Regions from separate parts of the Homo sapiens genome. Here regions 2, 3, 4 and 5 are each linked to region 1. The links are contacts of gene promoters, found by promoter capture Hi-C in blood cells and fetal thymus (Javierre and others, 2016). All regions are on one chromosome and are shown on one strand. Each heading gives the region's core, a stretch centred on a gene start or on the middle of the fragment in contact. The rest is flanking DNA. Distances are from core to core; before and after follow the strand shown.

Region 1 (5,752 bases), core at 2,009-4,508:
AACAAGAGATGTGGGAGTAGCCTTAAATTATTCAGGATCTTTATTATTAATGAATGTGCTTCTGTGAGCCCTTAAAAATAGTGCAGCCTCAAAGATTACTGTTTTGCATGCAATTGCTAGACAACCAGAACAAGAAATCAACTCTACACAGGAATGCTACATCTGGAAACCTGATTTTACTCAGCTTCTGTCTTCTAGAACTGCTGAGTCATTTTTACGGAGGTTCCACTAGAATGCTTCTCTGCGGAAACTAAGAAAGGTAAGGACTTGGTGTAGAGGCAGATAGATCATATCTTCAGCTATCCTGTTGACTGGCCGGGAGGCTGGACCCTTCCAGGCCTACCTAGGAACTTCAGGAATTTCTACACCAAGAAGAGTTCTAAACTGATTTCCCATGCTACAACTTTTCTAAAAAATCTTATTTGAATATATATGGAAACTTGCTAGGTTTTGGGAAGTCTTAGATTACCACTATTATTATTATTATTATTATTATTATTATTGAGGCAGAGTCTTGCTCTGTCACCTAAGCTGGAGTGCAGTGTCACATCTTGGCTCACTGCAACCTCTGCCTCCAGCTTCAAGCAACTCTTTTGCCTCAGCCTCCCGAGTAACTGGGATTAGAGACACCCACCACCACGCCTGGCTAATGTTTGCATTTTTAGTAGAGATGGGGTTTCATCATGTTGGCCAGGCTGGTCTCAAACTCCTGACTTCAGGTGATCTGCCTCCTTCAGCCTCCCAAAGTGCTGGATTAGAGGCGTGAGAGCCACTGTGCCTGGCCACTGTTATATTTTTAAAGAATGAATGTAATCAGATTTTTCTTTAATTTTGCTTTCTGTAAAATGTTATTTATCTGCCCAAATAACTTGTGCTCTAATTCATTCATTCATTAGAAGGAGGGTAAAGTATTATTTAAATGTAATTATCATATAACTTTTTAAAAACAGTTTTAAACTACCCATGATAACACAGGTAGTTATGTACCCATGTTACATCTTTTTCTGAGAACTAATAAGGCTTTTCTTACACCACAACCCATTCTTTTTGCTGAAAATGAATATATATGTGTATATATATAGTATATTAGACACACACAGAGACTTCAAAAGTTCATGGAAAAATGGAATTAAAAGATAAAAATAAAAACAAATTTATTTATCAGCATAAGCCTTATCAAGTTCAAGACACTTTTGTAAGTGATAATACCAGCCATTTAGTCCATCCTTAAAGAACCGAGGATCCTGAGAATTTAACCATGTCAGTGCAGTCCTTTTGACATTATTAACTGAAGAAAACTAGGTGCCCTTTGAAGATTTTTTAAGATTAGGAAACAAAAAGAAAAGAGAAGGAGCCAAATCAGAATTGTAAAGTGGATACCTAATGATTTCTCTTCAAATCACTTGCAAAATTGTCCTTATGTGATGAGAAGAATGAGCAGAAGCAGTGTCATGGAGGACTCGCTGGTGATGCTGTCCTGGGTGTTTTTCTGCTAATGCTTTGGCTAACTTTCTCAAAATGCTCTCATGATAAGCAGATATTATTGTTCTTTTGGCCCGTCAACAAGCAAAATACCTGGAACATCCTAAAAACTGTTGCCAGAACCTTTTCTCTTGATAGGTCTGCTTTTGCTTTGACTGGACCACTTCCATCTCTTGGTAGCCGTTGCTTTGATTGTACTTTGTCTTCAGGATTATACTGGCAAAGTCATGTTTCATCTCTTGTTACAATTCTGCAAAGAAAGGCTTCAGAATCTTGGTCCCACATGTTTAAAATTTCCATTGACCCTGCTCTTGTCTGCAGCTGATCTACGTGCAATGGTTTTGGCACCCTTCTGGTAGAAAGCTAGCGCAACTTCAATTTTTCAGTTAGAATTGTGTAAGCTCAATCAGTTGAGCTATCTATGGAGTTGGCTATTGTTTCTTCTGTTAATTGTCCTCTTAAATTACAGCATTCACATTTCTTTAAAGAAAAAACTTCATTTTTTTCTTGCAAACTGATGTGGATGGTCCACTGCTGTGGGTTTCATCTTTCACATCCTCTCATCCCTTCTCAAAATGAGTTATCTCTCTGTGAACTACTGATTTCTTTTTTCCTTTCTTTTTTTAAAATTTAATTTTATTTTAAGTACTGGGATACATGCGTAGGACGTGCAGGTTTGTTACACAGGTAAACATGTGCCATGGTGGTTTGCTGCACCTATCAGCCCATCACCTGGGTATTAAGCCCTACATGCATTAGCTATTTATTCTGATGCTCTTCCTCTTCCTGCACCTCCAACAGGCCCCAGTGTGTGTAGTTCCCCTCCCTGCATCCATGTGTTCTCATTGTTCAGCTCCCACTTATAAGTGAAAACATGCAGTCTTTGGTTTTCTGTTCCTGTATTAGTATGCTGAGGATAATGGCTTCCAGCTCCACCCATGTCCCTGCAAAGGATATGATCTTGTTCCTTTATATGGCTGCATAGTATTCCATGGTGTAAACTATTGATTTATTTGGGGCATTGTCCCCATAAACTTTTTGTAAAGCATCAATGATTTTACTATTTTACCACCCAAGTTTTACCATAAATTTGACGTTTGTTCTTGCTTCCATTTTAGCAGAATTCATGTTGCTCTCAAGAGCTATTTTCAGACTGATATCTTATCCTTCTTAATGCTTCAAACTAAATCCTGTTCAGACATGCTTCAACAATCTAGTGTGAGTTTATTTTGGTACAAAAAAATTTTGAAATCCTTGCCTATTTTTTTTCAGAATATACATTTTCCACAAACCTCTTGTGTGTGTGTTGTTTGAACAATAGTTGCAACATGAAACAATTAACAAAGGTAGCTAATTGACTACTCTTTTAAAAATTAATTATTAACAGAATCCTATGTATACATATACATACATGTATGTATATATGCATATATATGACAAGTTGATAGCTTTTGTTAGAAATTTAATATGTAGAATGATTTAGCATAGTATTATTAGAAATTTAAGTATTGAGAGTTTCAAATTTTGTTCTTAAAGTTCAAGTAAATTGATATCATCTTAAAGTAAGAATACAGTCCACTCTTAAAATTACAATGCCTCAAAGCCTCTAAGTCATCATGGTATTAGTTTCAGGAGCTGTTCTCAGTTTTCTGAGAAGCGTGGTCAGTATCAGGAGCCTCTGCTTCTATGTTTCTCCCTGTTTTCTTCCTCCCAAGATATTTCAGTCACCTTGAACACCTTGCAGTCACTTTCCACAGGTAAAATGATTTGTTTAGTTGCCTTTTTGTTCCCCTGTCCTCATTCCTCTGCTGCAAAACCTTCTGCTTAAAATACTGGTTCATTTCTAGTTACAGGGACCCACTTGCCATCTGTCATTCCAGGAAATTTGTGAAATGGATCCAGATAAACAAGGTGAGTATTATTGTCAAGTTTCTGAGCATAGTTTGTAAACAGAAAAATTAGGCACAGATGTTATATTTTCAGACCTCTGATTTGAAGAAGAGTAAACATTTGGCAAATTTCTGGCTGAAAAAGAAACTGTTATTTGATTAAAGTGGCTTTCTCTCTCTTCTAAACAGAAATCCACCATGTACTGAAGAGTATCTGGTCTATTGTCTCGAAAGCACCAAAAATAATCTAACAAAAGACTTGATGTCAACATAATTACATTTGAATTGCTATTCAAATACACAGAAACTATTACCTTAGTTTTATGTATATTCATAGTTTACTATTAAAATGAAATTATCGTATATATTTTAATGTCATAGGTAAGTTCACAGTACTGTGTAGTTCAAGTTGGGAGAAAGGTCTCACAGTTGTCACTATATGAAAATTTTATAAGTGGATATGGAGAAACTAGTTCCCCTTTCTTCTAACATCGCTGAATGCCAAGTTAGGCCCAGAACTGATCTGTGGGATTTCTATTGCTAGATCTGTTTGGAGCCTTACTCCCCTAACCAAAATCTACATTGTTATCTTACTTGTTTTATATGAAATTCTGTATGATCCCTAGTTGTTTATCTAAAACAACATTATAAATGATTACAATACCTTTGGGTTTTCCAAATTTGGGCTCTCATATTAATACGCTTTACACAAAGCAGTAGGTAATCCATTCAACTCTCAATTTTCTTCTTTCTCAATTTTCTAAGGCAGTGTGTCTCAAAATTAGCATGCATCAGAATCACCTGAAAGGTTTGTTAATATGCTGCAAAGTTTGTGATTCCGTGGGTCTGGGAAGAGTCCAGGAATGTACATTTCTAACAGGTTCCCAGGTGACATGATGCTGCTGGCTTGGGACCACACTGTGAGGACCACTGGCCTACAGCATCTATTTTGGATCATTGAACTAGATGATGGACATTTGAAAGAATTGTATTATATCCACCTTAGTATCTGTGGAAAATAAATATACTGATGTAGCTGAGCAAAAACAAGAATCCTGGTCAAAAGATATTTCCCAATCATTTTGCTTCCATGAAGAAGAACACATGTAGCTTGTGTTACTATTTCTTTAAGCATCTAAAACTGCTTTGTTCATAGCTTTGGGCGTGATACATTTGGTAGTTTCTTCCTTTCTTGAGTTTGTTTTGTGTGTGTGTGTGTGTGTGTGTGTGTGTGTGTGTTTGCATCGGCAGAAAAAAAATGTAAAAGTTAGCCTTGAGGAAGTGGGTCTGGTGTTGGCTCACCTGGGCTCCTCATTCATTTTCCATGTTGCACTGTATCACAGCTTGCCGTGTTATGCTGCCTAACTTCATCAGATGACGCTGTAAAGCATAACTTGACAGGAGAGTGATGGCCAGATGGTAGAGCAGCTACAGAGTCGCTCCTCTACCAAGAGCAGCATCTGGGAACTTGCAGAGCCCCTTGTCTGCTGATTCTGTGTATCTGCTTGGTGCATCTGAGAGGAACCAGGGCACAAACATTGGCCAATTTCCAGAGGAAAGAAATGTTGGGCATTACACTATTGTAAATTATTTCCACCCTATTATGCCTACTCTCAATTTTTTTTTTCTCCAAACATAGGACAGAGGAGTTTCTGACATCTCCCATTCTCTAACATTGGCATCTTATCTGAAAACTAAGCATTTTTAAAGCCTAAGGAAATGATGAATAACAAAAGATTTAGAGCAAATTGTAGTTATATATATGTTTGTACCTCTTGAAAAAGAAAGGAAAACATGTAGACGGTTTTTAAACAACCTCTCTTGTTTGGGCGACAATGTTTAGGCACAGTCCACTTCACCTGAGGTAGATGTCTTTAATCCATGATCATATGCTGACTGTTGGATGGATATACATTCAGAGAGAGGCCTGTGGCATGTTCTCACTACTTTGGGATGGCTCTGGCCTGGGGTGGCTCTGGCCTGGTTCAGCACTCTAATCCCCTCTGTGGCTCCACACAGTGCCTGGCACTCAGTATCTTATGTGTAACAGCTAGTACTTTACCCCACAACACTCAAGGGCAAGAAACATCATTTCCTAAATCAAAATCAAGGCACTGTACCTTGATATGAAATTTAGGCTGAGTTCACTTTCTTTCTTTCTTTTTCTTTTGTTTTTTGTTTGTTTGTTTGTTTTTTGAGATGGAGTCTCGCTCTGCCACCAGGCTGGAGTGCAGTAGCGCGATCTTGGCTCACTGCAACCTCCAACTCCCTGGTTCAAGCGATTCTTCTGCCTCAGCCTCCCAAGTAGCTGAGATTACAGGCACGCACCACCACACCCAGCTAATTTTTGTATTTTTAGTAGAGGCGGGGTTTCACCATGT
Region 2 (5,752 bases), core at 1,030-3,529, 790 kb before region 1:
AACATACTACAACATTTATTTATGTATTGTAGTTTATTATCTATCTTTCCTTAGAAGGGTAGGCATCTTTGATTTGTTCAGTAATGATTCCTAAGTGCCTAGAACCATGTCTCATTGGCATTCATTCAATACTTGTTGAGTTGTACTGAATTGTGATAAATCCTATGAGCAATGTCAGCACAAGGTGCTATGGGAGTATATAGAAATGACCCCACACAGATCAGGTTAAGAAAGACTGTGAAGGAGTTGAGGCCTCCCCTGAACTTTACTTTTTTGGAGATGAAGTCTTGCTATGTTGCCCAGGCTGGGGTACAGTGTCTGTTCACATGTGTGATCATAGCATACAACAGCCTTGAACTCCTGGCCTCAAGCAATCCTCCCCACCTTAGCCTCCCAAGTAGGTGAGACTACAGGCGCACCTCAGCTCTCAGCAGAACTTTTTTTTTTTTTTTTGAGTTGGAGTCTCGCTCTGTCGCCCAGGCTGGAATGCAGTCGTGCGATCTCGGCTCTCTGCAAGCTCTGCCTCCTGGGGTCACGCCATTCTCCTGCCTCAGCCTCCTGAGTAACTGGGACTACAGATGCCTGCCACCATGCCCGGCTAATTTTTTGTATTTTTAGTAGAGACGGGGTTTCACTGTGTTAGCCAGGATGGTCTCCATCTCCTGACCTCGTGATCTGCCTGCCTCAGCCTCCCAAAGTGCTGGGATTACAGGTGTGAGCCACCGCACCCAGCCTCTCTGCAGAACTTTTAAAGATAAATAGAGTGAGGCAGATGAAGGAACCACGAGAAGCAATGAAATCATAGATGCAAAGTGCTCCATTGGTGTCTTAGTCGGCTTGAACTGTTATGACAAAATACCATAGACTGGGTGGTTTAAATGACAAACATTTATTTCTCATAGTTCTGGAAGCTGGGAAGTCCAAGATCAAGGCATCTCTCTCTGTGGGTGAACACCCACTTCCTGGCTTGCAGATGGCCATCTTCTCATCTTCTTGTCATGTCCTCACATGGTGAAGAGAGACCTAGAGACATCTCTGGGATCTCTTATAAGAGCACTAACCCATTCATGAAAGCTCTACCCTCCTGATTTAATCACCTCCCAAAGCCCCACCTCCTAATATCATCATATTGTGGATGAGGATTTCAATATATGAATTTTGTGAGATCACAAACATTTGGTCCATTGCACTTGGGTATTGTTTCAGGTGGCTATTTGGATTGAATATTACCAATTGATTCCAATTCAGAGTATAGAAATCAAACCTCATGGGTAATGCACTTTGTAGAATACTTCTTCAGCAAAGCTTATATCTGCCTGAATTGTACCATGTTATCATAGTGAGCACTCATAACATTTCATGGTCAAATTGCATTGGCCGGGAGTTTCAGTCTGAACAGCCAAGGTGCCAAATCTTTGTTTTGGTCAACAGGGTAGCCAATAATAAAAACACTAAGCCAAAATCATAGTTAAGGTTTACAGTGAATATCTTTGGAAAGTAATGCAATGACTTAGAGATTTTTCTCATTTGAGATGTTCTTTTACCAGGGATATATTCGGAGATAGAGCCTTCACTATAAGTACAAGACACAAACCCACTCTTAAATCAGCTTTGTAACATATGATGTATGATTTATGTGTTCTTAACACTTTGTGCCATCTGGTGGCTTCATATTTAAGTAATTTTTCTTGATAATTAGATATCAAGCTTAGTTGTTTCTACCTGTTAGAGAAATATATGTGTTGTCAACATGTAAATATAACACATTTCAGAACAGAAAATTCTTGAAAATGTTTGCTTGTGCCCTTTAAATTTTAGTGGGCTGATACAAAGCCTCCTTGCTCTCCCAATTTTAACTCTGCTCATAGAATTGCCTAAACTCAGTCCCTTACTGGCACACAATAAGCAATACACATTATGTTAAATAATTGAATCAAATAGATTTTGATCCAGAAGAAACATATAGCATAAGCCTAAAGGACTTTAGGGAACATAACTTAATGTACATTTTGGATTTGTAAAATAGGGCTCATCATAGTTATCTATCTCAGTCTCTATGAGAATTAATACAGGCAATATGAGTTGATATATGTAACAGTCTTTGGCACACGTCTTTTATTAATAGACTTTATTTTTAAGGAAAGTTTTTTTTTTCTTTTTTTTGAGATGGAGTCTCACTCTGTCATCCCGGCTGGAGCAGTGGCAAGATCTCAGCTCACTGCAATCTCCACCTCCCAGGTTCAAGTGATTCTCCTGCCTTAGCCTCCTGAGTAGCTGGGATTATAGGCACCTGCCACCACGCCTGGCTAATTTTTGTATTTTTAGTAGAGACAGGCTTTCACCATGTTGCCCAGGCTGGTCTTGAACTCCTGACCTCCAGTGATCCACCCACCCTGGCCTCCCAAAGTGCTGGGATTACAGGTGTGAGCCACCGCACCCAGCCCTAAGGAAAGTTTTGGACTTGCAGAAAAAGCAAGCAGATAATATAGAGAGTTCCCATGTAACCTCCCCACCCCACCCTACCCAAAGTTTCCTCTATTGCTGACATCTGACATTAGTATGGTACATTTGTTATAATTAATGAAGCAATATTGATAGAGTATTGTTTTGAACTAAAGTCCATAGTTTATTGAGAGTTTCTTAGTTTTTGCCTAGTGTCCTTTTCTGTTCCAGAATCCATCCCAGGATACTGTGTTATATTTAGTTGTCATGTCTCCTTAGGCTCCCTTGGCTGTGTCAGTTTCTCAGACTTTCCTATTTCTGATGACCTTGACAGTTTGAGGAGGACTGGTCAGGTATATTGTAGGTTGCTCCTGTATTGGAATTTGTCTTTGGCACATTTTAAAGCTTCTAAAAGTGTTTGTTACTGATATTATTGCTTCATATTCAGATTAAATGTGGAACAAAGCTAGGATATGGGCAGGGGATAGTTTTGTTGAAAATTTAGTATTTAAAAGATTTATTTTGAAGCATAGTCAATTTATCAGTGCCAAAAACGGACAAAATTTGGTTTGCCTACATCCATCCTTCCATCTTCCATTCAGTAAATATTGTGAGGATAGTGTGTATTAGATGCTGGGGATTCAATAATAAAGAAAATGTAACTGCTTTCATAGAGCTTCCAGACCAATAGGAAGAGAGTCAAACAACTAAAGAAATAATCTGCAAGATAACTTGTGACAATAAAGAAAATATTCTTATATTAAAGAACATCTTAGTAGGTGAGGGGAAAGGGGACTAACTTTATTAAGATCATGCATTAGGATATTATAGAGATAGAAAACAGAATAACAGGCTTAAACAAGGTAGAAATTTTCTGTTCAGGAAATCAGGGAGTCAGTTCAGAGCTAATATGGCAGCTCCACAGTGCCAGGGTCCCATACCCCTTCCACTTTGTTGCTCTGCTGTGCGTGGATTAATTTCTCAGCATCATCTCTTGTCTAAGACTATTTCTGGGGATCCAGCTATCACATCTGAATTCCAGCCATCATGAAGCAGGAGGAGTCAGAGAAGATAACTCCCCTTTTCACATTTCTGTTTACTTTTTGCTGTTTTGACAGAACTTTTTATTTTACTTTTTGTTGTTTCTGTTTTGACAGAACTTAGTCAAGGGGCCTTATGCAGCCACCTTACCTAGTCTCTTTGTCCAGGTGGCCATGTTTACCAGCTAAACATCAGAGGTTTTATTGCTATACTGGTTCTCACGCTATGGCGTGCATCGGAATCACCGGCAAGACTTGTTGAAATACAGATGACTGGCCCTCATCCCCAGTTTTTCATTCAGTAGGAGAATAAGAATTTGCATTTCTGACAAGTATCTATGTGATGCTGATAATGCTGGTCCAGGACCACATTTTGAGACCCATTGCTGTAAAAAGGGAGCATGGCCAGATACAGTGGCTCACACCTGTAATCCCGGCACTTTGGGAGGCTGAGGTAGGAGGATGACTTGAGCCCAGGAGTTTGAGACCAGCCTAGGCAACATAGCAAGACCCCCATCTCTACAAATAATAATTTTAAAAAATTATCATGCGTCTGTGGTCCCAGCTACTCAGGAGGCTGAGGCAGGAAGATCACCTGAGCTCAGGAGGCTGAGGCTGCAGTAAGGCTTGATTGCACTGCCACACTCCAGTGACAGAGTAAGACCCTCAGGTGACAGAGTAAGACCCTGTTAAAAAAAAAATGAAAGAAAGGAAAAAAAAAAAAAAGCAAGCATGGATATTGAGGGAACACTCTCTGATTTGGACCATGATATGGACTTTGATCATTTACATTTTTTGTACTGAGACAGACTATGCTTTCTTTTTTTTTCTTTTTTTATTTTTTAGATGGAGTTTCACTCTTGCTGCCCAGGCTGGAGTGCAGTGGTGCAATCTTGGCTCATTGCAACCTCCGTCCCCTGGGTTCAAGCGACTGTCATGTCTCAGCCTCTCGAGTAGCTGGGATTACAGGCACCCGCCACCATACTCGGCTAATTTTTGTATTATTATTATTTTTTTTAAGTAGAGATGGGGTTTCACCATGTTGGCCAGGCTGGTCTCGAACTGGTGACCTCGTGATCCACCGCCTCGGCTTCCCAAAGTGCCGGGAGTACAGACATGAGCCACCGCGCACGGCAAGACAGACTGTGCTTTCTTAGATCAGGTATCTGGTCTTTGAGATGTCTGTTCTGGGTAGCTTTATGCAATTTAGTCAGTTTTGTATAAGGTCTGTTTTCGTTATCTTACTGCTATGTAACAAACCACCTCAAAGCAAAGTAGCTTAAAACAGTCATTTGCTTATGACTGTGGATCTGCAATTTGAGCAGGACTCAGTGGAGCTCATGCTGGGAGTACAGGCATGAGCCACCATGCCCGGCGAGACAGACTGTGCTTTCTTAGATCAGGTATCTGGTCTTTGAGATGTCTGTTCTGGGTAGCTTTACACAATTTAGTCATTTTTGTATAAGGTCTGTGTTTTCGTTATCTTACTGCTATGTAACAAACCACCTCAAACAAAGTAGCTTAAAGCAGTCATTTGCTTATGATTCTGTGGATCTGCAATTTGAGCAGGACTCAGTGGAGAAGTCTGGCCTCTGCTCTTCATGTGGTGGCTGGCCTTGACTGGATAGAAGGATCCAATATGGCCTTCCTCACATGTCTGGAACTGGCTGTCAACTGGGGCACCTCGGTGTTCTTCTAGGTGACTCTCTAGCAGTACAGCAGTATACCCTGGACTTTCTTACATGGAGGCTTGGAGCTCCAAGGGGGCAAGATAGAGGTTCTAAAGCTTCTTTAGAAAGCCTAAGCCTAGCAATTAAACTGAGTCCTTTCTGCTAGAATCTCTTGGTCGAAACAAATAATGAAACCAGCCCAGATTCAAGAGGAGAGGAAGCAGACTTCATCTATTGATGGGAGGAGTGGCAAAGTCACAGCAAAAAAGAGCATGCAGTGGGGAGGGATTATTATAGCTATCTCTGCAACAGACTGCCACAGTCAGAAATGAGAATGCCAGTATTACAGTAGGAACCTCATATAATTGTCATGTGGACATAGACCTATCATTTATTGGATTTTATCCCTATCAGGACCAAAGTGTAATTTGGATAAAACACTTCCAAAATATTTTGGTTTACTAATAGAAGTGTGGCAAGATCAAACAGGGTTTTAGAAAGGTTTGTTGGTTATTGAAAAAATGTTTCCATTTCTTCACTGATAAAAAAGTTCAAAAATGGGGACAAGTTGAAAATAAGTTCATAAATATTTTTCTGCTG
Region 3 (5,752 bases), core at 1,521-4,020, 770 kb before region 1:
GATGGGAATCTTGCTATGTTGCCCAGGCTAGTCTTGAACTTATGGCATCAAGCAATCCTCCTGCCTTGGCCTCCCAAAGTGTTGGGATTACAAATGTGAGCCACTGTGCCAATCATTTTTCATTGACAAGAAAAATCCTTTTGGTTTTGTAATTTCAAATTCTGGATCACATTTTCCCAGCCAAGGGAAATTTTTAGTAACTTATAGGTGTGGAAGCCTTATTGTAGGCAAACTTGGATTTTAATATTACACTATCATGTTTGAAAATAGAAGAGAATTTTAAGTAGTCTAATAAAAATGATTATTATTATAAAGCTTTGTGGTTAAAAGGACATGAGATTTATCAAATTGTGCAATTTAATATTGCATCGTCTATTGTTTGTCATTCATGCCTCAATAAATCTGTAAAAATGAAAGGACACGAGGCAAAGAAGGACACACATGCTTTGTGAAGTCCTGCTTGGGGTAGGACTTCGCTTCTCCTTTAAGGACAACTGCTAAAATATAGTTTGGTCAATTAATTCACATATTTTGGGTCCTGTCTCTTTGTAATATGCAACATTGGTTTGGGTTAATAACTCAAGAAAGCCTCTGAATATTTCACAGCTGACAGTCCTGATGAAAACTTAACTCATAGCAAAGTTGTTTTTTATTTATGGGCTTCTAGGGGCATCCATGGTGCTCCACAAAGCATGGGAAAGACAAGTTTATGCTCTGGGCCTTCTGTGAGTGCTTAGCATTTAGATAGCAGTGACAGTTACGAGCATGAGTGGCTTTGTGAGTTATTTGGAATGATAGCCTCCTGGTAGGAATGACAGGCAGTCCTCCCTTGGGAAAGATGATTATACTGGGTATGGTCATATGGTCACCAGTCACGGCATTGGGAGTCACTTTTTTAGAAGTAATGATAAGCATTTAAGGGACAGAAGGACTGGGGAGGGTAGCAGGGAAAAATAAAGGCATTCAAAATGAGGAAAGCAGCATGACCCAGGCACAAAGGTGCTGTATCTGGAGTGTTCATGTGACATATTTTGGGGACAGAATTCAACGAGGCTGAGTAGCAGGGTGGACCCAAAAGGTGAAGGATCTGGACAGGCAGACCTTGGCATTCCGACAAATGGAAAACAGAAGGTTTTATATTGAAGGTGTTTGAATAATGATTTTTTTTTGGAATGATTACCATACACAGGTAATTATAGAAGTTCTCCTACATTGACTCAAAGCAACCCTCTGATGTAAACACTATTTTTAGTATCACATGTTATAGATGAGGAAATGGGGCACCGTAAAGTGGCAGAGATAGGATTTGAACCCAGTCTGTTCGGTCCAAGAGCAAATACACTTAATTATTAGGCTGCCTAGTATTCCTTAACACAATAAGTGGTATTTAAGGATGGGTAAATCTGGTGGTGATTCACAGGGTTGATGAGAAGGGAAAAAGTGTGGGGTTGGGAAATCCAGTTAGGAGGCTGTAGCAATAATTATAGGCATTCCAGAAACCATTCGTATCTTTGCTTCCTGCAAATGGAATGGATTTCATCCATTCCCACTATACCTATGCTAAATCCAGTCTCCACCATCTTCTAATTCTTCCCTTGCCCCTCTCCACTCCCTTCACAATGTGCAGTAAGAGGGCATTTGTAGAGAACAAACCTGATTATGTTGCCCCCTTGATTAAACCCTTCGTGTAAGATCCATACTCTTGGGTTACAAGATTTTTCATGAGCTGGTTCTTGCTTTTCTCTCCAGCCCCATGACTAGGCATCAGTGTCCTTGAGACAGAGTCTCACTCTGTTGCTCAGGCTGGAGTGCTCGGCTCACTGCAACCTGCGCCTCCTGAGGTTCAAGCGATTTTCGTGCCTCAACCTCCTGAGTAGCTGGGACTGCAGGTATGCGGCACCATGCCTGGCTAATTTTTGTATTTTTAGTAGAGACGGGGTTTCGCTGTGTTGCCCAGGCTGGTCTTGAACTCCTGGCCTCAAGTGATCTGCCCTTCTTGGCCTCCCAAAGTGCTGGGATTACAAGTGTGAGCCACCATGCCCAGCCTTAGGCACCTGTGTCCTTTCATGCCACTCTGCTGACCAATGATTTTTCTCCTGGCTGCATGTTAGAATACCAGATAGATGCCCAGGTCCCATCTCTGATGTCAGAACTTGGGGACAGGGACGGGGGCAGAGGAAGCTTTGGTAAAGAATCTCCCCAGCAGTTCCTAATAAGCAGCCAGGGATAGCCAATGCTTAATAGACAGGCTGAACCCCATGTTCTGGAGGGAGCTGCTCTCTTCCCTCTCTGGGTCTATACTGTTCTTTCTGCCTAGAGCACATTTTCCCTCATCCTGTTTCACCTGGTTGACTCCTAGGCAGTCTTCGGATCTTATTTATCACTACCTCCCTAGTGCCTAGAAGAGTGCACATGGTAGACTTTCAATAAATATCAGCCAGGATTAGTTAAATGACTGAATAATGCCCCCCCGCAACCCAGGATGTCCACATCCTAATCCCCAGAACCAGTGAATGTGTTACCTAACATGGCAAAAAGGACTTTGCAAATGTGTTCAAGTTAAGGATCTTGAGATGAGCAAATAGCTTGGATTGTCCAGGTGGGACCCATGTAATCACAAGGGTTCTTATCAGAGGGAGGCATTGCACTGGAGGGAGGGAGGAGATTTAAGGCCAGACACAGATATCAGGGAGGGAATGCTGGCCGGGTGCCGTGGCTCATGTCTGTAAGCCCAGCACTTTGGGAGGCTGAGGCAGGAGGATCACTGCAGTCCAGGAGTTCAAGACCAGCCTGGGCAACATGGCGAAACCCCATCTCCACAAAAAAAAAAAATACAAAAAGTACCAGTAGTGGCGCCTGTAGTCCCAGCCTCTCGGGAGGCTGAGATGGGAGTGTTGCTTGAGCCTGGGGGTTGGAGGTTGCAGTGAGTCAAGATTGTGCCACTGCATTCTGGCCTAAGTGACAGAGTGAGACCCTGTCTCAAAAACAAAAAAACAAAGTGAGAGAGGCAATGCTATGCTACTGGCTTTGAAGCTAGAGGAAGGAGTCATGAACCAAAAGAATGTAGGTAATCTCTAGAAACCAGAAAAGCAAGGACACAGATTGTCCTCTAGAGTTTCCAGAGAAAGCACGGCCCTGCCAACAACCTTGATTTTGGCCCAGTGAAGTCCACTTCAGACTTCTGACCTCCAGAGCTGTCAGATAATAAATCTGTAACAATAAATGTTGTTTTAAATAACTAAGTTTCTGTAGGCCATTGAAAACCACCTATGAAAAAATGTAATAAATAACTAAGTTTCTGGTAATTTGCTACAGCACCGATAGGAAACGAATACATGTGCCATATCTGAGAAGCTTTTCTTCATCACCTTTTCCCCCAGGGGCAAGTTAAGGGCCTCTCCTGCTCACTCCCTTACACTCTGATGTTTCTTTTCTGTGCCTCAGTTTTTCCACGTGTAAGACAAGTACTTACTTCACTGGATTCAGATGAGGATTAAATGAGTTAATATCCACGAAGTATTTAAAATAGTCACTTTCCCATAGTAAGTGCCCAATAAATGTTATTGTTATTATTACCCCATCACTGCCCACTTATCACACCATTGTATTTGCCGAATGAAGTAAGTGAGTGGGAATAGAGATTGAGGAGTATGATTAATATTTCCGCCCGTCTCGTGGGCCTGATCCCGGAAGAAAGGGATCTACCTTTCCAGGGCCTCAGCAATCGTTCCTTCTAGAACCTGACTACCAAATATGTTTTCCCCCTTTGTTTTGCCCTTTTGGAGGGTCTGTTTCCTGGGTTTCCTCTTGCACATCCCCCTTGGCTCCCTGCTCTATTGCCTGGAAGCCTGGGACCTCGCCACACTTACTGGCGGCTGCAGCTCCAGGAACCCAGCGTCCAAACCTTGAGTCCCTCTGCTGCTTTCAGAAGGGAATGTAGATCATTTCAAGAAAAAAGGAGAGGGATGAGTCAAAGAAGCGTAGATGGCTTCAAGCTGGCTGACTCAGAGAATGACTAAGAGAAGAAAACTGGAGAGGATGGGAGGACAGTAGCTGGAATGGCTTCCCTTGCTGGCTGTGTGTCCCCGGCACTCTATCCAGCTGCCCCAAGCCTCAGCTTACTGTCCTTCAAGTGCAGCTGATCACAGCACCTGCTTACAAGAGTATCATAAGGGTTAAAGGAAAAGTGACCCTTGAGCACTTAGCACAATGCCCCATCTGCACACAGCACCCTCTAAGTGTCAGCTGGCATTCATTTGAGTAGGAATGATGAGAAAAGGGTATGACCTGTAACAGCAATTTTCCAACTTTTTGGCCTCATAAGGTCTCCTTTATACTCTTAAAATATTATTGAGGACCCCAAAGAGCTCTTGCTTATATGTATATCTAGTAATATTTACCACATAAGAAATTAAAACTGAAACATTAAAAGTATTTATTCTTATAAGAACAATAATAGACCCATTATAGTTAACATGATTTAAAAATAAAACATAGTTAATTCTTCCAAAACAAAAATAATTCTGGTGGCATTGCTTTACATTTTTGCAAATCTCCTCAGTGTCTGGCTTAATAAAAAGATAGCTGGATCCTCATATCTGCATCTCTACTCAGTCTGTTGCAGTATCACATGTCACAAGTCAGATAGCCTCTGGAATACTCCACCGTACACTTGTAAAAGAATGAGAGTTAAAAAGGCAAATGACATCTTGGTATTATTATGAAATAGTTTTGACCTCAGTGACTACCTGTATAGATCTCAGAGGTCCCCAGAACACATTTTGAGAACCACTGACCTATAAGATCTTTTTGCAAAAATGTTTTTGCCGGGCGTGGTGGCTCACGCCTGTAATCCCAGCACTTTGGGAGACCGAGGTGGGCGGATCACAAGGTCAGGAGATCGAGACTATCCTGGCTAACACGGTGAAACCCTATCTCTACTAAAAATACAAAAAATTAGCCGGGCGTGGTGGCGGGCGCCTATAGTCCCAGCTACTCTGGAGGCTGAGGCAGGAGAATGGCGTGAACCCGGGAGGCGGAGCTTGCAGTGAGCCGAGATCGCGCCTCTGCACTCCAGCCTGGGTGACAGAGCAAGACTCCGTCTCAAAAAAAAAAAAAAAAAAAAAAAAAAAGAAAATGTTTTCAATCTGTGTATATAGACCATGATAAAAATGAGATTAAATATTACCTCCATCACATGGGCAAAAATGGAAAAGTTTGACAAAGATGTGAAAAGTGTTTCTGAGATGATGAAACACTGGAGCTCTCAACCTCTGTTAGTAGGAGTATAAATGGTATAAATTGGTTTGATTATTAATTGTTACTAAATTTCTCTTTAGAGTTAAAAATGCTCATATTCTATCATCCACTTATTCTGTTCCTTAGGAGAATTAAGAAACAAATTATGATATAGTTACGTAATTGATGACCACAATTGAAGACTATAATGAGTGGTAATAGTAATAGAATACCAATGAATAGAAACATATAATTCACATAATAGAATGCTGCAACTAAAAATGAATTAACTACAGCCATGTAAACATGAATGCATCTCAAAAACAGTGGTGAGCAAACAGTAAGAGATTCAAGTTCTGTGTACCATTTATTTTATTTTTTAAAAATTATTATTATTATTATTGTTATTCTTGAGACAGAGTTTCACTCTGTCACCCAGGCTGGAGTGCAGTGATATGATCTCGGCTCACCGCAACCTCCTCCTCCCAGGTTCAAGCAATTCTTTTGCTTCAGC
Region 4 (5,752 bases), core at 827-3,326, 750 kb before region 1:
CAATCACAGGGAATGATCATAGAAACAGCATCATTGATGCTTAAATTCACAGTTTTTAAAATAAAAACTCTAATCTCTTCGTCTGCGCAACCATTAGGACAAGGCTAAATATCGTGGAACAATGACACATATTTTTCTTATATTTCTCTGTCTTTTCCAGCATGTCTTCTTTACGCTCTACGCTCCGTTTCTGTAGTTTACTTACTTTGAAAAAAAAAAAAATCACCCGACTATTATTATGATTCTGGCCACATGAATCCCAGTGAGCATCAATTTCTTTGTCTACGGAACTTTTTTTTTCCCCTGGAGTCTTGCTCTGTCGCCCAGGCTGCAGTGCAGTGGTGCGATCTTGGCTCACTGCAACCTCCGCCTCCCGGGTTCAGGTGATTCTCCTGCCTCAGCCTCCTGAGTAGCTGGGATTACAGGCGCCCGCCACCATGCCCAACTAATTTTTGTATTTTTAGTAGAGACGAGGTTTCACCATGTTGGCCAGGATGGTCTCGATCTCTTGGCCTCGTGATCCACCTGCCTCGGCCTCCCGAAGTGCTGGGATTATAGGCGTGAGCCACCGCGCCCGGCCATCTACAGAACTGGTAAGCAGTCTAGGGTAGTAAATAGAAACAGGGCCCCAGCTGTGGGCAGGGGCTGCTTCTGCCACTTCGAGATTTGCTTTTCCCCATAGATGAACTGAAGGTAATAACAGCATCTGCCTCTCACTGTGCTGTTGTGAGGATGCACTTTATAATGGATTTCATAAGGTGCCTGGCACATAGAAAGTGCTCAGTAAACATTGCGGTAACAGTGGTGGACTCTTTTTTTTTTTAATTGAATGAGTTGTCAACATTTAAAAATCTGGAGAGCTCACATAAAAATCCTCACTGATCAGTTTTGTCCACATATATTACTTGCCCGGCTTCTGTGGGCACGCGGGTTGTGGTCCTTCGTGAGCCCTTCCATCTCCCACCATCTGTTTATTGCCTTTAGATGATGATAAAAAAAAACTGCACCATGGCCAGCAAGAACAGCTGTAGGAAGGAAGACTTCAGATTTTTTCTCCAAGTTGCAGAAGATGATTGTGCTCAGTCCTAACAACTCTCTGTAGATTCTTTTATCTGAGCAATCCAAAGCCCTTAGCGCTGCAGTTTAATCTAATTTGTTTCTTTTGTCAGATTTCATTTTGAGGCTGAAGCCTTTGAGAGACTAGCAGAGAGCATTTCCTATGGGAAATTTGGTTTCATTCATTCCTAGGTGGCAGGTTGGGGGGTCAGGATTGTCAAACTGGGGAGGACATCTGATGCCTGATGGTAAAACAAAAAGCCACCAGGGACAGGCTTAGGACAGTTCCACTGTGACATCCTTTTTCCTTTTTTCCCCTTCACTTCCTCAGCCCCCCTACCCCATGTGTTAAATGGGTTTTCTTATTTTTAATCTTAAAGAAAAAGAATTTGTGTTTATAAAATAAGATTTAAAAGGTTATTTCCTCCTCACAGTGGGAATCCAGGGAGATAGCTTGGCAGCCCCCAGGAGCTCAGGGAGGAACTCAGCAATCCTCTCATCTGTCTTACAGAACCGTGCTAAGTTACCAAAGGAAACCACCACTCATTTATCTAAACCCTTTGCAGTTAAATGCTCAGAGACGAATGCGCTTGTTGCAACTGCTCTCAGGGTGGCAGCAGACACTCAGAATGGTGTTTCGATTTAACTTATTGCATTTCAGCTAATTGAAAAGCAGAGCACATCGAAGGGCCTCTGTGAGAACACTTTTCAGACTATAAATCGGGGCTGGAGGAGATGTTTAATTAAATCAGTCCTGAGGTCACAGGAAGGAAAAGCAAACCTCTCCCTCCCAGACTTGACCTGGTTCACGTAGCATGGCAGCTGGAGAACTTGGAAATGTGTTAGTAGGACTAATGTAAATATACCAGATTAAAGCACTTCCCCGCCAGACTACGAAGCAAGAAATCGGATCTAGAGACAGACAATGGCTCTGACCTTCCAGTTTAATTCTGTATGCAAGAAACACACAGATGAAGATGGCCGGAGAGGCCGAATTGCTACGTTTCAGATTGCAGTGCGAGGACAGACTTTCTTAAAAGAGCTTATTTCCAAAGAATTCTGTTATTTGCGAGCAGGGACTTGGGAAGCCTTGAGTCAGTCCTGGGTCAGAACTGAGTGTTTGAAGGGGTGAATCATTAACTAAAACCCAACAGTTCATGAAGGAGGAAACCTAGTTAGAATTTGGGATCCTAGACAGGACACTAGCCAGGTGTCATCTGCAACAAAGGAAAGCGTGGCCAACCCAGCGTGGCCCACACAGGAAGGCTCCACACAAACCTATTGGTCTCACTTTTCTTGCTGAATTCTCTCTCAGGTTCATGGGCTTGTATGATGAATGTTCATGCAACATCTCTCAACAGCCTTCTCTCCCCATCCTTCCCAAATTTAAAGATAGGATCACGTGACAGAAAGAAAAAGAGCAGAATGTAAATGTGAAATCATAGCATTTGAAGGTGTGATCTTGGTTTTTAGCTAGAAGACGAGGAAGCTGAAGAAGTAACTAATTCAGGCCGGGCATGGTGGCTCATGCCTGTAATCTCAGCACTTTGGGAGGCTGAAGTAAGCAGATCTCTTGAGCCCATGAGTTAGAGACCAGCCTGGGCAACATGGTGAAACCCTGTCTCTACAAAAATGCAAAAATTAGCCGGGAGCAGTGGTGCACTCCTGTATTCCTAACTACTTGGGAGGCTGAGGCGGGAGGTTGGCTTGAACCTGGCAGGTGGAGTTGCAGTGAGCTGAGATCACACCAGATCTGCACTCCAGCCTGGGCAATAGAGCCAGACCTTGTCTCCTTAAGATAATAATAATAATAATAATAAAAGTAATTAATTCAGTCCAGCCAGTCAGCATAGGGAGCTAGCATGTTGGTCATAATTGCATGGCCCAGTCTGGAGCACATAGGTTCCTGTGATGAGCATCATGATGTGAAACAAAGCAGTCAGTGCCTTGGAATCATTACCCACTCCCCTTGCATCTCTAATCGTATATTGATTATGCTTATTTTTCATTCATAATTTTCTATGACTCCTTATTTCCCATGATACATCCAATTTCCCATGAAAGATCCATATCAGTCCTATTACCCCTTTGGATCTATTTGTTTGCTGGATCAATTCTCATTAAGACTTTAGTTTCACAGTTGTGGGAGGAGGGCAGGAGAGCTGTAGGGGAGGCATTTATTCACTTCTCCTGGTATCTGAGCAGGTAGACACAAAAACCTCTCCCCATGCCGTTTTTTCCTTATCTCTTCCTCTTGGATACTTTCTTGGTTTCCACTCTCTCCTCCTGTTTTCCTCTCCCTTCCAGACTGCAAAGAGGACCTGAAGGATGAGATCAGGGTTTGTGATAGAGGTCAAGCGTCTGCCTTACCTTAGGCAGCTGCCCCTTATCCCTCTTCCTGTTCTAATGATCAGCAAAGGAAGGAGCAGATGAGGGATCAGAAGAAGAGAAATAAGGACAGCAAAGCCAAAAGGTCCTGCAGGACAGGGGGTCTGGAGGCAGAAACTTGAGATCCAATGCTGAGATGGATGAGATGTTTGACTTGAGCAGTCATTCACCTCTCTGGGCCTCAGTTATCACAGCTGTAAATCAGAGGAACAGATTGGACGTGCTCTAAGCCTGGCTCTGGGGTTCTACGAGTCTATGAACTAGGAAACAGCAGTTTACAATTTGAAAACGCTGCAGGATGCTTGTAAAGTTAATTTACAAAAAAAAAAAACAAAACCAATAGCAACAACAACAAAACCCTTCCTGTGATATATGTATTTATACCCCATCACTGATACCATTATGTATGAATAACTTACTAGAACCAATCAAAAAAAGAAAAGAAAAAGCACCGAAGGGCAGAATGATGAAGTTGGCGATGATGCCACCAGCTCATTCTGGTGAGTGAGTGATTTGTTTATTTCCTCTGTGCTTGGGGTTGCCGCTAAATCTGGGCTGGAGAAACCAGTAAATATTTTTAATGTGACAAGAAAATCAGAGCATTTGGTGCCTTACACATTGTTGTTACTACAAGTTTTATTTCTTCTTTTATTGTTGGCCATAACCTTTTGAGCCTGATCTGGTACAAGAGCCCTGTGCAATCCCAAAAAAGGTGAGAGGCCAGATGTAGCCATCTCTGTGTGCTGGGCCATCTGCTGGTAATTCATGAGACAATGGCCAGGGCCCTTCTGATACAGTGCATGGAGCCGATTTGTTACACAATTCAAAGATATTTATTTTTATTCTGGTCTTACCATATATATCTTAGCCTAATCATGTAGAGGGGTTCAAAACCTCTTTAGACCAATACACATTTGCACCATTTACATTGTGCATCTTGATCTGCCCACTAGCAAGTTTGTTATCTTCTCTCCAGAGCATCAAGTAAAGGAAACACACACACACACAGAAACACACACACACACATACACACACCCTCAAACCATCTGCTCATCCTTGTGAAAACCTAATAAAAGTAACAGCAAAGAGAGGCAGGGTTTATTCAATTTTGTCTAGATCTGGGCAACATTAATTTCCTTGTCTCAAGACAGCCTATATCAGAGAAGGATTTGATAAAACTCAGGAAGGACAGAAGCAGGACTGGTGAGGTTCACTTAATTACTCCTTGTGGCACAGAGACAGTTAAACTTAAAAAAAAAATTGAAATGCAATCCTGGCTCATGTTACCCATTAGCTGGGTATATTGACCAAACTTATAGTCAGATAATGCAAACAATAACAAAGTTATTGATTGAGGAGATGTCAGGCAAATAGGTACTTATCATGATGCTGCTGATAAGCTCTGGATTTCCCTGCTATGGCAGCGACAGAGGCCTATTGATTTTGCAGTTGGTCATCTGTGGCTTCCAGCTGACATGGGATCTGTGGCTGATTCTATATGCAGGAGCTGCACTCATAGCAGGACACCGCAATTACCTAAGAGAATGCCACCCAACTCTGGCCATGGGGAAAGGAAGGGTTGAGTCCACATCAAAAAGAGGCACCTGCAAGCAAAACCTGGCAGTGCCACTAGGTCACAGAATGCTTTGGGGCTGTCTCCTCCTGAGCGTGCATTTCTTTCCCCTATGACTGGAAGATACACACAAGATCAGGTCCTTAAGCAGCTGGCATTAGCGCTGAGCTTTGAGCTGACCAGTAGGGGTGCGGAAGACAGATGAGACCTGCAGACCCTCCCCACTGAACACCAAATGTATCACCTCCACAGCACATCTGCTCCCCAAACCTGGGCCTTCCAGTTGGCAGGGAAATCTGGCCAGACGTATTATTATTGCTTCTCCCAGCATGTGATCAGCCTGAGGCATTCATGGTTGATTGTCTAAATTTTAGATGTGAACCAGCAAAACGCCATCTCTCTTAGCACTTTTAGTATTAGCCAATTACATGGCCGTGGAGGAGATATAATAATACTCATTATTTTTTGGATAGCCTTGCACGAAAAGGATGCTTGATGTCTGCCAAACAGACCCAGGCAATTGTTTGACATTCGAGCATGCGAGGGAGAGGGAAGCTGGTGTGGTGTGGAGGATGAGAGGAGTCGGGGGTTATTTATTTCTTACTTTCCCGTAGATAATTCTGGAGATGACTTGCGGGCCTCATAAGTGAAGGGCCAAAACATTTTGTGTTCATTGTTGACAGTTCTTTTTCATGCAAAATGATGTCAAAGGATATGTGATATTTAACCAAAGAT
Region 5 (5,752 bases), core at 827-3,326, 730 kb before region 1:
TAGCAGGGGTTCAGTAAGAGAGGTTTCAGTAGACTGAGACGTTCCTGTGATAGAAGCAGGATCCAACAGACAGAACAACAGAGGGGACTTAACAAAAATTGTAGCCTGAATATCAGCTTCCTATTAAGCTAACTTCTGACCATAGAGCTCTTAAAAAAAAAATTATTTCAAATATCTTATAATTTCAGCAAAGGCAAATAACAAATATGCCTGGCCTTTTTTCTTCTTATTTTTCTTTCTTTTAAACTGGAAGTATCTACCAAGAGATTCAGAACCAAAGCCAGTAAGTGTTTTTGGATTTATTGGACAGGACACACTATGAGGAATCAGAATGAACAGGCCTTGCTAAGTTTCTTTCAGAACCTTAGTTCATACCCTTTTGTCCTGTCATGTTTTTGCATGACTTTTCACTCTTTATCAAACCTGGTATAAAAACACTTCAGCTTAATCGTTTCTTTGGGTCTTCATTTTCTGATGAAGGCTCCTGTGTCATGTAAAACTTCCATTAAATAAATGTGTATACTTTTCTCTTGTTAATCTGTCTTTTGTTAGCCTAATTTATAGAGTCCCACCTGGAGAACCTAAGATGGATAAAGAGACAAAGAGATTTTTTTTCCTCTATCCTACAGTACATATTAAAATGCAGGTAATTATGTTCTTTTTCGTTTTTGAAAAAAGCTCAAAATGCCATGTAAGTGCTTAGTCCAGGAAGGAAAAAGCTTTATAATCTACTTTGTTCATGAGATGCAGTAACAATAAGCAGAACATCTGTTCTGGAAGCATCTGTTATATCAATTACATGGCAAATTTTCAAGTTCTAGAATGAATGAATTTGTAAGTGGTGAGAATTTTTGATAACCAAGAGAAGACAGGATCTAGAGAAGAGAGCAGGTAATGAGCTGAGAATATAGCATGATCTTGATGGTGTCTGTGTTTTACTGCAACCTAGAAATTACGTGCTTTTACATGCAATATTTTTTTCCCCCACAAAATGGTTCCCAAATAAACAGTTAAAGTGGTTTTAGGTGATTAAAGCAATATAGAAGATTAGTTTTGTTATATATAATCACCTTTGCTTCTCCTTTATTGATGAAAAGAGCTTTTCTCAGTAGGTTGTGTTATCTATTTTAGATATTGCCTGATCTTGTTTTTTAAATGTAAATCAGCTTTTTAATCTTTTTTTATGTAAATTTGATAGCCAGTCCCAGCAATTATTCTGCTTTGTTGTAGCTCCCTCTTTAGAGCTGTCTCTATTTTATGTTTAATTGTCCTAATTGTCCAAATTTGAATAAACCTGGAGAACAGCAATGGAGATCATTACTTGTTTTTAAATTTACAAAAAGGTTTAAGCACTCCTTCCTGAACTTCTCTTTAATTCTTTACACTGTTAATTATGATCTGGGAGATTGGAAAACCTTATTATTGTCCCTGGAGCTGCTACTCCAAATTATAGGTTTGTTTATTCTTGTGTTACTACTTTATATCAGACTTCTCTTTCTATGAACATGATAAAAAACTCATCAGAGAAAATTTGTTAACTTCGCTTTTTAATCAGTCAGGATTTTAGCAAGGGGGTATTTAGGTGAAGAGGTGTATTAGGTAGTTTTAGAGGTTGGAGCAAATAACTGCAGTCCTGGCAGGGGAATTCGTCCATTTCATCTCTCCATTCCTCCACCTACTTACCTATGTATCAATGTATCAATTTTTGGAGGGCTTGAACTGGATGACATATCAATTCAATGGGATTATATTCTGACTTAATAATTTTTAGAAAATAGTAGATTAGATTCTAGGTCAAAACGGTCTGAATTTTGAAGTTGATTTAGCTCATAATTAAATTTGAAAAACCAAATACAGGAGAAAACCAAGAAGGTCTTATCTCAGTTTATTGAGTTCTTTATAGTTTGGGTTTTATGCTTTGGTTCAACTCAAGGCCTTGGTCAGGAGGCAGGATACTTGATTTAGCAGTTGAGCATGAGGCTCAATTATATCTAGTACATCTATGTCCAGCGCATCTATGTCTGGTACAATGTCTCTAGCTAGAAATTTTTTTTCTGTCATCATGCTGAGAAGCCATCTTTAATTCATTCACAGGTTCACTAAGCAGCTAGGGATATTTGGAATGAACAGAATGCATGTTAATTTCTGGTGAATCTGACATGCTAGATTGGATGTGCTCAGTTATCAGTGAGAGAAATACTTCGTATAATATAGGAAGTCACATATAGATACGCAGATAACTAACTTCACTGATTTTTGTGGCCACACCTGTTCAGGACTGCCTAAAGAGATTGAACCTGGCGATGACCTTGGACAAGTCTCAAAAACTCTCTGAGGTTAATTTCCCCATCTATGAGGTCAGGAATAGGAATAATTCTCAGGGGCATAATATAAGGAGAACAGACAAGCATCAGTGTTTTAGAGAAGCTCCATTATCATACACAAGGTCAGATCAAATGAAAATGAAATGTTCTCTTATAGCATCTCTGAGTTTCAGCAAGTAAATTCTAGTCATGCTTTGTATTCACAGACAGGAAATGTCTGTTCAGAAGGAATGAATAATAGATAACTACTTTCTTTGCTTTACACCTAGTTATAATTCTACAACTAACATAATATTAAATGAGTTCCCTTCCTCCCAGTGATGTTTCATATTCTGGTTACATACTGTAACCTTAAAACTCAACAGCATGAAAAATCAAACAGCTGGAGAAAATGTATCTTTAATTTTCCCACCAATTTACCACCCCCTGCCCTCTTGCTCCAGATTATCTGCCCAATTCTTAGATAAATGGTGTATTCTAAGTCCGTCTACCCTCATAAAGATGATGGACCCCAGCCAATCTTAGGTCCAGTTTCTCAGATCCAGTTTTTATTTGCTGGGTTTTAAAACTAAGGTTTGCTTTGACAGTGGTGTGTTAAATACCTCATGTGCTGAATCATACCTCAAATAAAGCTAACAAAATTTTTTTTTTGTAATTGCATGTTAAGTGTTCATTTTTGGTGTTAAGTAATTCATGAGTAGTAATTTATGTTTAGTAAGAAGTAGTAATAACTCTTAACCTGGCTCATAAGAATTGTAAACTATGTTATTATATATGATATATTACCAGTAAGAAGAAAGGGAATTAGGGTGAAAGAATGACATAATTTTGACCTGGAAGAAATCATGGACAAAATCTTATTAACTGTTCATTGAAGCAGTGAGGGAACAACGGGTCTGGAGGAGAAATGACTTGTTCAAGGTCACACAGCTGGCTAGCTTCAGAGTTGGCCCTAAAAGTCACAGTTTTTGGCATCTGGTCCAACACACTTTCCATCACAACATGCAGCCTCTTAGTTTGTTGGTTTTGGGTCAGAAATATAATTAACACAGGGCAGGAAGCCTAGATTATGAAAGAGTTGGAGGAGAATCTAATGAAAACCAAGCTTTTCTGAAAGTCCTGGGCAGTTGACCTGTTCTGTGATATATTCATGGTGTCCACCTGCAATTGGAATTTGGCAAGTGGCTCCTCTTTCCTCTTTGACCTCCTAGTTCTCTTCCTAGACTGGTGATTTAAGAGCTTACAGAGAGTGCACAACTTCTAGAAGAGTGAGAAAAGTAATATAATAATAAATAGCAGTAAACAAAAAAGTACAGAGAAAGAAAAAAAAGAGAAGAAAGTAGTACAGTAATAAAAGTACAATTTCAACAATTCTGATGTGAGATGATGAAGCAGTGGACGGGGAATACCCATTCCAGAAGTTGAGCTGTGATAAAGAAAGAAAAGTAGGATGTGGTGTCTAATGATAATAAAAAATAATGGCAGCTTGAAAACCAAGATGCTGTAACTACAAAAGGAGCAGGGTTTAGGGTTCTGATGCAGACCCATTATCCACACAGACGACATGGGCTGCAACCAAGTCACAGGGGATTGTAAATCAACCCCATACCCACACAGATCCTATTTAAACGCACACACACATATAATACATACATGCATGTATATATATATTGTAGGACTTTCCCCTTGGTTCAGCTAAAAGCTGGGTTCTTTTCACACAACCTTGAAAGATTAGGCTCATAGATGCTTTGAAGGGTGAGAAGGGCAGGGTTTACTGGGTGAAAAGGAAAAAACGGGAAACAGGGACTCTCAGCAAAGTGAGAGTTTTGCTAGCAGGCTTCCCGCCTCACAGATTGATTTCCAGGTACGACCCCAGAACAGGAGAGGCCAGGCTCCTCCCCACTGCAAACAGCAGGAACTTCCCGAGGCTCCACCCCAGTGTGCGCTTCTCCCAGTGCGCAGGCTGGTTGGAGGTTCTCCAGTGACCCCTTTATGCTTGGCTGTCTCCTATATACATATATGTACATAGGTTTGGTTCCCATACCATAGTGTGGGAGTCTTTAGTTACCTGTATAATATCCATTGATAAAGAACATCTCCAGGAATTGTTTGAGATGCCTAATGGAACTCCTTAACAATTACAGTCAAGATTCCAAGAGAGGTAGTGAGGTAAGTTGCACCTCTTACAGGATGGCTTATTCTGCATTACTCTTTGTTCAGACCTGCTTAGTAATCACCAGTGTGCTCTCACAAGGTCCTGGGCTACTGGCTCTTCTGTCTTGATAGGCACTCTTGGAAAGCTTATGTGCTTATGTTGTATCAGTTAGCATCTGTAAAAATTATCTTCCAATATTCTTCTTTGATACTGATTTTCTGGGGAGGGGGACTGTGATGAGAATGTTGTATGGGTCTGATGACTCAGTCATTCAGAGGATGACCTCATTTGAGCCACCATTTGAAAGTCAGAAAACTGGATGTTTTAAGTAGTCTAAAACATGATCATTCTTTTGGTTATTGGGTTATATTACCAAATCCAGTTGACACCAATGTATAAATCAGAATGCCATCATTTAAATATATGTGTTTAATTATCTTAATATATTTATATTTTTATAGTTTAAAATTATTTATAGTTTAAAATAGTAAGTTTCTAGTTTAAAATATAAACATAAATTATGTTTATACTTTAATTAGTATATTAACGTATATTTAATATATACTTAGATTTCTATTGACCTGATTATATGCATCCTCCATCCTAGGAAGCATCTTTCTGATATCAAGTTACCTGAGAAGTGAGTTTTAATCAGAATGCTACTTGGTGAGCATAGAGTTAAAATTGCTCTGGGAGAGTGTTTTATAGAAACTCTAGAAAAACCCAGGGAAATATGCCTACTCCACAATTGTATATACTGTTTTAATAACCAGGTAATGGAATCCCCAAACACATTTTTTTTAACTGTTGAAAGCATGAGTTGTTTTGGAACAGAGAGAGTGATGAGGAGCAGAATTGATAAGCTGTATGGGATAGGCAGAATCGCCCTTGAAAGATGTCCAAGCCCTCATCCCTGGAACCTGTGAGTATGTTACTTTGCATATCACAGTGGACTTTGCAGATGTAATTAAGGTCTTGGACATGTATTATCCAGGTTGGTCCAGTCTACTCACACAAGCCCTTCAAAGCAGAATTTTTTCTGCTTTGAAGTCATAGAGATGTAGTGGCATAGGAAGCAGGAGAGGGAATCAGAGAGATTGCAAGTGTGAGAAGGGTTTGAAGTGCTGTTGCTTGCTCTGAGATGTGGGGGGCCACCGGCAAGGACTGAAGAGGTCTTTGGGAGCTAAGGGCAATCCCCTGCTGACAGCCAGCAAAAGAAAGCAGGAACCTCGGTCCTACAACTCCAAGAACAAAATGTTGCCAGCAACCTGAA

The links. Contacts are between HindIII fragments. The CHiCAGO score rates a contact against its expected background, and 5 or more counts as called.
Region 2: a contact is called between a fragment that was not itself captured here and the fragment with the promoter of DYTN in region 1, in 1 of 17 cell types (fetal thymus). The highest score is 5.2, in fetal thymus.
Region 3: a contact is called between a fragment that was not itself captured here and the fragment with the promoter of DYTN in region 1, in 2 of 17 cell types (endothelial precursors and fetal thymus). The highest score is 7.3, in endothelial precursors.
Region 4: a fragment that was not itself captured here is called in contact with the fragment with the promoter of DYTN in region 1 in 2 of 17 cell types (monocytes and fetal thymus); the score reaches 7.7 in monocytes.
Region 5: a contact is called between a fragment that was not itself captured here and the fragment with the promoter of DYTN in region 1, in 2 of 17 cell types (fetal thymus and naive CD4 T cells). The highest score is 5.5, in fetal thymus.

The regions. Positions count from the first base shown.
Region 1 is chr2:206,715,902-206,721,653 of GRCh38, reverse strand. It overlaps DYTN (dystrotelin), which reads left to right and starts at 3,258. Exons shown (of 12, transcript NM_001093730.1): 1 at 3,258-3,393. The coding sequence starts at 3,375. The HindIII fragment of the contact is 17,717 bases long and covers 1-5,752 here.
Region 2 is chr2:207,506,250-207,512,001 of GRCh38, reverse strand. No RefSeq gene overlaps it. Among named protein-coding and RNA genes, the nearest start is that of CREB1, 21 kb to the left of the region's middle. The HindIII fragment of the contact is 1,140 bases long and covers 1,710-2,849 here.
Region 3 is chr2:207,486,327-207,492,078 of GRCh38, reverse strand. No RefSeq gene overlaps it. Among named protein-coding and RNA genes, the nearest start is that of CREB1, 41 kb to the left of the region's middle. The HindIII fragment of the contact is 1,173 bases long and covers 2,184-3,356 here.
Region 4 is chr2:207,469,248-207,474,999 of GRCh38, reverse strand. No RefSeq gene overlaps it. Among named protein-coding and RNA genes, the nearest start is that of CREB1, 58 kb to the left of the region's middle. The HindIII fragment of the contact is 8,487 bases long and covers 1-5,752 here.
Region 5 is chr2:207,445,363-207,451,114 of GRCh38, reverse strand. No RefSeq gene overlaps it. Among named protein-coding and RNA genes, the nearest start is that of CREB1, 82 kb to the left of the region's middle. The HindIII fragment of the contact is 2,710 bases long and covers 722-3,431 here.